Regions from separate parts of the Homo sapiens genome. Here all the other regions are linked to region 2. Evidence: promoter capture Hi-C in 16 types of primary human blood cells and fetal thymus (Javierre and others, 2016). All regions are on one chromosome and are shown on one strand. Each heading gives the region's core, a stretch centred on a gene start or on the middle of the fragment in contact. The rest is flanking DNA. Distances are from core to core; before and after follow the strand shown. Region 1 holds the start of TBC1D10A (TBC1 domain family member 10A). Region 2 holds the start of PES1 (pescadillo ribosomal biogenesis factor 1). Region 3 holds the start of MORC2-AS1 (MORC2 antisense RNA 1).

Region 1 (3,579 bases), core at 28-2,527, 260 kb before region 2:
CAACATGGGGCCCAGCTTGGAGGCAAGGTGCTGTTCCACTGCCCCACATTTCTCTGTCTGCTAGCTGGGTGTCTGGGTGCTCTCGGGATAGGACATCGGGGGGTGCTAATATGAGCAGGGACCCTGCTGTCTCCCTGCCTGCCCCCGTCCCACGCCCAAGATCTGCCCTTGGGAGGAGGCGCATACATACACAGGACATACACAGAGCCCATCTACTGGCTCCTGTGGCTGCTGGAGCTGATGGTCTGTCCTAGTGGTGGGGCTCCCTGTCGCCCTGTACGTGCTGGGAAGGGGGAGTACCTGCCCACCTGTTGCCAGTGCCAGTGGAGGAAGCTGTGTATGAGCGGATAGGGGGCCCTTCTCCGACCCTTCCATGAGGAGAAGGGACTGTCTGTCCCAGGATGGAGCTGAGGGGAGGGAGGTGACCAATGTCTGTCCATCCAGAGGTCTGTATGCCTCGAGGAAAGGGTCAGTCTGTCCTGGGAAGGGGTGGGGGCGGGGCAGTCAGTCCTGAAGTCGGTCTGAGGTCTCCTGGTGTGGGGGCAGTGAGGCGGGGAGACAAGGGCGTCTGTGGGTTTGTGGGAGGGGGAAAGATGGAGAATGAGTGTCTATGGAGGGGGGCGCCAGCCATCTGGGAGCCTGTCGGGGTGGCAGAAACAATCATCCCTAAGGTCTTGGCGGCAGGGGTGGGTTTGGGGCAGTCTGTCATTCTGTTCCACGGCTGGAAGGAGGGCACAGTCGGTCCTTCCTGGGAGCGGGTCAGTCTGTCCGGAGGGTGGAGGTGGCGGGTGGAGGTGTGGGCCCGTCCGCCCCCTGGGTCGGAAGTAGGACTGCGAAGGGGGCGGGTCTAGGAAGGCAGGGGTGGTGGGGGTGGGGCAGGGGAGGGAACGGGGATTAGTGGTCCCTGCCTGGGAGGGGGACGTGTCGGCAAGTCCCGAGGGCGCCTCCGTCCGTGTCGAGGCCCCTCGCGTGGGTGGCGCGCTCAGTCCCGACCCCCGGCGCTACTCACGCGCCCTCGGCGCCCTGCGAGCCCACGATGAAGCCGAACTTGTCGATGCGGCGCTCGGCGAAGCCGTTGGCCTCCGAGTCAGACCCGAGAGAGCTGAGTTCGTCGGTGGTTGCGGCGTCGGGGCCCTGGGCCAGGCTCTCCCGGGTTCCCGACAGGCTTTCCCCGGCCGCGGGCGCGCGCGGCCCATTCTCTCCGTTGCTCTTCGCCATCCCAGCCGCGCCCGCCGCCTGAGCTCCAGCGGCCACCTCAGCCGCCCTGCTGCCGCCGACGCCCCGCCCACGCGCGGCGCCTATTGGCCGCCGCAAGGCCGGGGGGCGGGGCTCCAGGCCCACCCCGGAGCTCTCCCCCCACGCCCAATGGGCGCCGCGGACCCCGGGCCCCGCCCACCCTCCCCCGGCGGGCGCCAACAAGCCCGAAGTGAGGGGGCGGGGCAGCCGTCACCGCAGCCCTCCCCGCCCTCCTCCGGGCTGCCAATCACAAGAACTCACCTGGACGAGCTCGGGCCTTTCCGGGTTGGCTCCAAGCGGGGCCTGTCACCTACTGCAGAGCGCGAGCCGGAGGCCCAGGGCTTCCTCCATGGATTCCTCATCTGCCTCCTGAGCCCCGCTCCCTGCGAGACCCCAAGGACGTGGTAGGGATTGTTTGCCCCATTCATTTATGAGGAACTCTGAGGAGGCCCAAGTGAGTTCAGGGACGCAGAGCGGCTTAAAGGCCCAGCCTGAGCCAGAAGTCTGGCAGTCCCATTGCACTCACTGCTTCTGGGGCTTTAAATTACCTCGTGAGACCTAATTATTAATAATCACCAGCGTTTACTGAGCCACGCACGCCCGAAGCTCTACCTACTTTCTCCTGTAGTCTTTTCCCCAGCAGTTTTATGGAACATAAACATACCATAAATTCACGTTTAAAGTGTACAATGATTTTTAGCATATTTACAGAGTTGTGCAGCCATCACAACATTCTAATTTTAGAACATTTTCATCACCCCAAAAAGAAACTCCTACCAATTAGCAGTCACTCCGCATCCTGGCTCCCCCAGTCCCTGGCAACCACTAATCTGCTTCCTGTTTCTATAGATGTCCCTTTTCTGGATATTTCATATAAATGGAATTATACAATATATGGCCTTTTATGTCTGGATTCTTTCTCTTGAACATTTTCAAGTTTCATCCACATTGTAGCATGTATCAGTGCTTCTGGATTCACATCTGCCCCAGGTATGTCTGACTCCACCCCTCCCTTTCCTGGGATAGGCCCACACCGCCATGAAAGACCTATACTGCCCCTCCTGGGAGCTGGGACTATACCAGATTTTGTTTTTCCATTCATCAGTGATGGTCATTCGCGTGTTTCTAGTTTTTAGCCATTATGAATAATGCTGCTCTGACCATTCAGGTACAAGCTTTTGTGTGGGGGCCTTATGTTTACATTTCTCTTGGATAGATAAGGAAGAGTGGAATTGCTGGGTCATATGGCAACTGTTTAACCTTTCGAGGAACTGGCAAACTGTTTTCCAAATTGGTTGCAACATGTCTTGTAATCTCTTAGCAATGAGGTATACACCATTATTAGTCCCATTTTACAGTTAAGGAGACTGAGGTAAAGTCAGTTGCCTAAGGTCCCAGAATTAGCTGTGAATATAGCCAGGATTCGAACTTAGCTCTTACCAACTGCCTATATTTGGAGGGATGGGCCGATTTTATCTATATGGGCTTAGCCCCAAGCAGCTGATTTCTGACCCTAGAGATTGTCAACTCTTGGATCTATAATATAATGATAGCTCCTCGCTTATGTCTAGTACTTTATGGTTTACAAGTCACAGTATATTGTCATCTGACACTCCCTGCAGACCTGTGGGAGAGACAGGCCTAGAGAGGGGAAGGGACTGGAAGACTCAGACCTGGCTGCAGGGCCTGGGACAGACTATTCAGGGCCCCAAGGCAAGCCCCAAGAGGGGGTCTTGAGCCTTGAGTGATTTCACCTTGATGCCATGTGGCCTGGACATTCTTGATGGCGTCATTGTACAATCCTCACATTCCATGAGCTTCTGGCTTTCCATAAACAAGGCAAGAACAGACATGGGAGTGGGCACAGGCTATTTTGGTCTTAAACCCTCAGTCTAGGAGGATGTTCCTTCTCTTCAGTGACTCCAGACAGTGGTGGGCTCCTGGTCCCAGCTCCCAGGAGGGGCGGTATGGGTCTTTCATGGTGGTATGGGCCTATCCCAGGAAAGGGAGGGGGAGGAGCCAGACATACCTGGGGCAGATGTGAAGCCTCAAGTACAGCAAAGAAAAGTATCCACGACCCTTTGACTTCATGATTCTATCCCTAGGGTTATATCCCAAACATGTTCTTACTCAGCTCTGTGAGGGCACAAATATAGAGACGTTCACCCCAGGGATATTTGGGGAGGGGGTAGATTAGAGACCCTGAGTGTTCATCTTTAGGAGACTGTATAGATGTTACTCCAGTGATGCTTCAGCTTCTAATTTTCTTTAATCAAACCACCAGGATTTGAATTTATGCTCTGTGACCTTGAGCAAATTACTTCTCTCTGAGCCCATTTCCTC
Region 2 (3,690 bases), core at 562-3,061:
GGTCAAAGCACTAAGCTAGATGCTATGAAGGCAATAAAGACAAAAAGCCTGGTCTCTACCTGCCCCTAAGAAGCCTATTGTCTTGTATAACCATCTGGATGCCTGTGGTGCTAAGATGCTGCCTCACACCCACATTTCTGTATCCCTCACACTTCTGTATCCCTCGATAGAGACAATCAGTGCACTGTAACAAATACCCTGCAAGCTAACAAGCATGTCGTTTCCAAACAAGATCTTCCTCTGGACTAAGACAGCAGGGGCCTCTTTGGCTAGGTTCAGCTCTAAAGAGACAAACCTGTTAGTCTCCCACAGGTACGTTTACTAATAACATCATAGTCATGAAACATACCCTTCATTCATTCTTTCCTTTAGACATTAATTGTCTATTAGGTATTAGGCCCATGCTAAGTCTTGGAGGTATAAAGATGAGTTTCAGACTGCCTTAAGAAGTTGAGTTTTCATTTATAGCGTTTTCCATTACCTTATGCCACACTTATCTCTGTCACCATGCTTATCCTTATAAATGTTAAGGGAATAAATAGTTCTCAATGGGGTACTCCCTGGGTATGTGCTGGGGGGAGGAGAGTTCAGCAATGTTTGGAGACATTTTTGGTTGCTGGGTGCTACTGGTATCCAGTAGGTAAAGGATCAGGGATGTTGCCAAATATCCTACTACACACAAGACAATCCTTCCCACAACAAAGACTCATCTTTGTTGATTCTGGCTCTGAAACCCAGCTTTTAAAAACTGTAACGATTTTGTTACATATCTACATCTGCAACTCAAGGGCAGGTTTTCCATCTTGTATCTTTGCAGTTCCGATGGCTAGCACTGGATACTCAATGTAGTGTGTTGGGTTAAGAACACTGGCAATAGAAACTTTCACTCTGAAAGAAACACTTAAGCCAACTATATATTCCTCATTCCCATTCCCTTCCCAGTCTTTTCATGTCACTGGGCCGATTCTCCATACAGCCACAAGAACTCCCTGAAAAACTCTAATCGTGTTACTCCTCCTTTTTTTCCTACTGCACGTAGAATAAAATCCAAGCTCTACACTATTCCTACTGCACTTAGAATAAAATCCAAGCTTACAGGCCTTGCACGATACAGTACGTGTCCAACCCCAATCTTATCAGATGCCATTCTTTTCTTGGTTTACATGCGAGTCATCCTAATGTCCTTCCAACTCCTTACACACAGCAAGCCTTCCCTGCCTACTGATCTTGGCACTTGGTTTCCCTTGTCAGGCCTGCTCGCTAAGCACTCCCATGCCCCAGAACCCATCCAAGACGTTCTGATCTTTCCCATTTCAGCCGAAATGTTATGCCTCGAAGAGAACTTCCAAGACAACACTAACCAACTAATGTAACGGTGCAGTAACGGTGAGCTCTACGTAATGTTTATCACCCTTTCGGTAAATAGTGGTCCCACGGCTCGGCCTGCTTTTGGAATGAAGCTACGCTTGGTAAGTTCAACTCTCTTTCACAGCCCTCTCCACAGAAAGAACTCTGGAGTTCGTTCTCGGATTTCACTAAACGAATACTGCCATCCTTGTCCATTCTCGGACCCCTTCTCGCAGCTGATTACGGTCACGTCGATCCCGTCTTTCCAGTCTCCACGAGACGGAGCCCGGGAAAAGAGTCGACCCCATGCTCTGCCGCCCCCGCACCCCACCCCTCGGGAATCCCCACCGTCTTTCCCAATCACCTTCTTCTTCTCAAGGCCTCCCATCGCTCCACGTTGAGGAGCCGACTAGGGCCGCGCGTACAGGGAGCTCCACTTCCTCCCGCACGTGCCCTGCCAAGGACCCCGAGGACCCTCCCCACCCCACGCTGTCTGTTTGTGCGGGCTGCCCAATGAGATGCCTGTACAAGTCCAGGGAAAGATGGGGATTTCCTCCTCAAGATTTAAAACTATAGTCTGAAAAAAATCACTGAGAACACTCTTTCCAGATCTTTCCCGCTCACAATGGTTACAAACACTTTAAGTGTTAAAACAAACGTGGATATACAGGCTTTTCTGTAATCACCCTGATGACGATTCATTGACTGTGAGCCTCGTTGCATGTTGGGACGGAGAGGGGCGGAAGGCTTAGGGACAGCGCGGTGCCTTCTGGGATGCAGAGGGGCGCCGCACTCCATGGTGCGCGATAGGATTGCGTTGTCAAGGTAACGGTTGCTAAGCGTCGTCAGACTTCGGCTGCCGCTGCTGAGAAGCGGTTCCCGAGGGGCAGGGTGAGACTGCGCTGAGTTCCCACCGGCTTCGGGTTCTCTTTGGTTCATTCGCGGTTATGCGGCTAAAATAGAAAAAAGGAAGACATTTTTCCTCGCGGAGGTATAGAGATCCTAGAGGCCACTTATATTTTCTGAGCCTTAGTGGTGGACTCGTGGTATATTTAAAATGTACATTCAAGGCTGGGAGCGGTGGCGCACGCCTGTAATCCCAGCACTTTGGGAGGCCAAGACAGGCGGATCATCTGAGGTCAGGAGTTCGAGACCAGTGTGACCAATATAGTGAAACCCCGTCTCTGCTAAAAATACAAAAATTAGCTGGCCATGGTGGCACACGCCTGTAATCCCAGCTACTCGGGAGGCTGACGCAGGAGAATCGCTTGAACCTGGGAGGCAGAGGTTGCAGTGAGCCGAGATCTTGCCACTGCACTCCAGCCTGGGCGACAGAGTGAGACTCCATCTCAAAAATAAATAAATAAATAAAATTAAATGTACATTCAACATATTCGAGCTTTTAATTTGTACACATAAATTCTGTAAGTGTTCCTCAAATAATAATTCCAAGATTTATACAAATAGTCACATCACCTTGAGATGGTGCAGTCTGGAAGTAGATGCAATTTTAAGAGGTTTTTTTTTTTTTAAACGTTTCTCCCTTTTTCCAAATTCCAAATTTCGTTCGAAGATGATCTCAAAAGTTTAAATTTGAGGCTCTTGTGAATGTGACCTGGCCCAAGGACTTGGTCTTAGAACTTACACAGAGACAGACGTTAAGCACTGGTGAATACTTGTTTTGAACTATGTGACTTGCACTATCTAATTTAAAGCTAAAATTTAAAACCCAGCAATTCCACAGTTAAAAATGAGATGAAGCCGGGCACGGTCGCTCACACCTGTAATCCCAGCACTTTGAGAGGCTGAGGCAGGCGGATCACCTGAGATCAGGAGTTTGAGACCAGCCTGGCCAACATGGCGAAAACCCATCTCTACCAAAAATACAAAAATTAGCCGGGTGTGGTGGCAGGCACCTGTAACCCCAGCTAGTTGGGAGGCTGAGGCAGGAGAATTTATTGAACCCAGGAGGTAGATGTTGCAGTGAGCCAAGATTGTGCCACTGCACTCTGCACTCAAGCCTAGACGACAGAGCGAGGCTCCATCTCAAAAAAAAAAAGAAGAAGAAGGAAAGGGATGGACTGGAGAGGGTGGCAGTGGCTGGCTCATGAGGGCAACACAGGAACAGGGCTGGTGTCGTGAGCATGTGGCCTGGGCAGTCATCTCACCCTGTCCCTCACAAATCACCTAGCTCGTCCTGCACAGATAGAACCATGTTTGCAGAAAGTTGAGCCTTGTTTTGCTCACATTAATGTTGAGGGGTCACTGGAAGACACAGGTGGGGATGTTCAGGGAAGCAATTGTAATTTCAGCTCAAAATAGCCGTCATATAGGTACCACATT
Region 3 (3,367 bases), core at 15-2,514, 330 kb after region 2:
ATTTAATGCAATTATAATTTAAATCCCAATGGAACACTTTCTTTTAGGCAGGGATGGGAACGAACTGGATAATGCGATTAAATATTTCATGTGAGAGAATACATTCTAAGACTGGAAAAGCATTTTTTAACAAGTGAGGGAGACTGATCTATTTAGATGCTGATGACGCCCAAAATTATAGTTTCAGCCAGAACCTCACCCCTCACATCAGACTCACTTGTGCAACTGACCACAGATGTCTCCACTGGCGTCTAAGCGGGATCTCAAACTCAACAGGTCCACACCTGTTGGCTCATTTAGTAAGAGGCTCATTTAATAAGTGGGGCTGGAATAAGTTAATTTCCACCTGGGGGCGGGAGACGCTTGACTCTTGCCTTACAGCTTATACTAAAATATATTCCATAAGGACTATAGGTTGTCTAGTAAAAAATAAATAATAAACATTGCAACAAAATGTAAGAGAATATCGGGGGAAGGGGAGAAGAGAGAAGGGGATTGATTTCCCTAAGCATGATAGGAATCCCCAAAACTTTAAAACATTTACCTTTCAACAAACACCATAAACCAAGCCAAGGACAAACGCATAGAAAACGGACTAATGTTAACTAAGTCCAAGAGGCTTCAGGCGCTTGGCCTCGGGTCAAAAGGGAGACATACAGGCTGGCTCTTCCGGGCAAGAGGAAAAACACGCAGCTTCCTTTCCAAGTGTTCTTCCTTTCAGAGATAAAAGCGCCGACCCTAAGGACATCTGTTCAACGAATGTTTTTCCCTAATGACCCCCGGAAAGTTGGAAAGCCGGGGTAGAAAAGATTTCTTCTGCACTTTGACTTAATTAATGCGCAGCAGCTTGCAGGAAAAAAAAAAAATCCTCGCTTCTCTGTTTCGGGTGTGAGTGGGCCATTGCTCTCCCTGTAAGGAGCTACTAGAGACGCTGAGGCAGGAGAATCGCTTGAACCCTGGAGGCGGAGGTTGCAGTGAGGCGAGATGGCGCCACTGCACTCCAGCCTGGGCGACAGAGCGAAACTGTCTCAAAAAAAAAAAAAAAAAAAAAGTAGGGGATTAGAGCTGGCCACGGCTTCCCCAGAAACCTGCAGTTACTGGAGTAGGAAGAGGCCTCGGAGAATCCCTGGAAGCATCTACCTAAAAGACGCGAGGAAACCCCCAAAGGCCACAGGCACCTGCACCAAACCCTGAGTGCCGCAGGAAGCTCGCGAGGCTTCCAAAGCGCATGCGCAGGTCACGGTACGGGCACGTGCGGCGCGCCAGCAAAACCACGCAGGCGTCTTGTCGCTTCCGCCTCGAGCGTGTGGCGGGATTGCGGAAGCCCTCCACAGTTCATAACCGTTGGCTGGTTATGAACCGTTCATAACGGGCGTTAATAACCATACCCTGTTAGACTAAGCATGGTCCACCCGCGAATCCTCTACAGAGATGGCCAAGCGCTGGGGTCGTGGCTGCGTCCTCTAGGCCAGGTGAGAATTTACAACCCACCCTCGGCCACTGTTGTGCTGTGGCCGCTGATGATTAAGCATGAGGAACTCAGAAACTCTGAACCTTCTGACAAACGGGTTCTCCCCTGCCCACCGCGGTGCCCCAAACCCAGCAGGACAGATTGGTTTACATGGTGGGGCATTGGGGAGGACCCAGAGCTTTCAATAAGGGAAGAAATGATGTGGGGAGGGACAGTAAATCAAAGTAGGGGATTAGGCCGGGCGCTGTGGCTCACGTCTGTAATCCCAGCCCTTTGGGAGGCTGAGGCAGATGGATCTCTCGAGACTGGGAGTTCTAGACCAGCCTGGCCAACATGGCGAAACCCCATCTCTACTAAAAATACGAAAATTAGCCGGGCGTGGTGGCGCGCGCCTGTAATTCCAGCTACTAGAGAGGCTGAGGCAGGAGAATCGCTTGAACCCTGGAGGCAGAGGTTGCAATGAGGCAAGATGGCGCCACTGCACTCCAGCCTGGGCTACAGAGCGAGACTGTCTCAAAAAAAAAAAAAAAAAAAAGTAGGGGATTAGAGCTGGCCACAGCTTCCCCAGTAACCTGCAGTTACTGGAGCAGGAAGGGGCCTCGGAGAATCCCTGGAAGCATCTCAACAGAATCCAGAGGGGACAAGAAAAGAGGAGGGATACGTCTGTCGCATCCTTCCCTTCTCATTGATCCAAGTTTGCACTAGTGGTGTGAGCCCTCCTTATCTTCCAGGCCTTGGTGGGCAGCTGTTGACATGTCCAGAACCCCAGGAAGTGCTGAAGGTACCTGCAGTTCAGGCCCCATGGAAGCCCAGACCTCCTTCACCCTTCGGGGACACTGAAATTGGCCAAATGTTTAGGCCATGAGGATGGCTGCTGAGTAAGCCCATAATCCCTACATCGGACACAAGTAAGCAGGTGAAGGCCTACAGGTAGCAGGTAGGGGCCAGTGAATCTTGGAAGCAAAGATTTGGGGGTCAAGAACAGCAGGGAGCTCTGGGCCCCCATCCTAGCTTCAACCAGAGCAGCTCCAGGACTCCTGGCTTTCCATATGGGCTTCTGGATAAATTTTAGGTACTCCTGAGGCTGAATAAGCTGGAAAGCCTCTGCCATCACCCAACTCCGTTATTTTAGAGGAGGAACAGGAGCCAAAATGGGCAGTGACTTGTCTGAGGCCTTGCCAGCTTGAAGAAGGAAATGTCCGCTGAACCCAACAGTGGCCCTGGTAAGGCCTGGTGCATTGCAAGTTACCGGATGAAAATGGTGACTGGCCGGGTGCAGTGGCTCATGCCTGTAATCCCAGCCAAGGCGGGCAAATCACTTGAGATCAGGAGTTTGAGACCAGCCTGGCCAACATGGTGAAACCCTGTCTTTACCAAAAAATACAAAAATTAGCTGGGCATGGTGGCACGCACCTGTAGTCCCAGCTACTTGGGAGGCTGAGAGGGGAGAATCGCTGGAACCCAGGAGGTGAAGGTTGCAATGAGCCGAGACTGTGCCACTGCACTCCAGCCTGGGTGACAGAGCAAGAGTCCGTCACAAAACAAACAAAAACAGAAACAACCCCAAATGTCCGTAAGTAGGAGACAATATATCCAACACATGAAATGCTCTGTGGTTCATGAGAATAAAGAAGACCCATATGGGTTATTCTGAAGCAGGTTCCACTACACTAAGCTGCACTAAGTAGTTTTAACAGGCAGAAATGGAACAGAGTGGAAGTGCGTGCACTTAGGAGGGATACTCTCCAGGGAGAATTCAGGGATTGGGTGGGAGAAGGGAGCCTTGCTTTTCATGGTCCAGCCTTTTAGACGGTTTTAATGTTTACCATGTGCATGTTTCACTTAAAAACCAAACACCCTAGGTGAGGCATGGTGGCTCACACTGTAATCCCAGCA

What was found. The method cuts DNA at HindIII sites, captures the fragments that hold promoters and counts their contacts. A CHiCAGO score of 5 or more calls a contact.
Region 1: the fragment with the promoter of TBC1D10A here is called in contact with the fragment with the promoter of PES1 in region 2 in 1 of 17 cell types (naive CD8 T cells); the score reaches 6.0 in naive CD8 T cells.
Region 3: a contact is called between the fragment with the promoter of MORC2-AS1 here and the fragment with the promoter of PES1 in region 2, in 1 of 17 cell types (endothelial precursors). The highest score is 6.4, in endothelial precursors.

Annotation. Positions count from the first base shown.
Region 1 is chr22:30,325,664-30,329,242 of GRCh38, forward strand. TBC1D10A (TBC1 domain family member 10A) reads right to left here and starts at 1,278. Exons shown (of 9, transcript NM_031937.3): 1 at 1,010-1,278. The coding sequence starts at 1,218. RefSeq lists an enhancer at 1-634 and silencers at 851-900, 1,201-1,530. The HindIII fragment of the contact is 3,707 bases long and covers 1-2,409 here.
Region 2 is chr22:30,590,099-30,593,788 of GRCh38, forward strand. PES1 (pescadillo ribosomal biogenesis factor 1) reads right to left here and starts at 1,812. Exons shown (of 15, transcript NM_014303.4): 1 at 1,712-1,812. The coding sequence starts at 1,735. RefSeq lists enhancers at 1,640-2,355, 1,835-2,134, 2,355-2,434. The HindIII fragment of the contact is 19,848 bases long and covers 1,090-3,690 here.
Region 3 is chr22:30,921,044-30,924,410 of GRCh38, forward strand. It overlaps MORC2-AS1 (MORC2 antisense RNA 1), which reads left to right and starts at 1,265. Exons shown (of 2, transcript NR_026920.1): 1 at 1,265-1,472. LOC107985544 (a long non-coding RNA gene) reads right to left here and starts at 736. Exons shown (of 3, transcript NR_146603.1): 1 at 545-736. The HindIII fragment of the contact is 12,308 bases long and covers 1-3,367 here.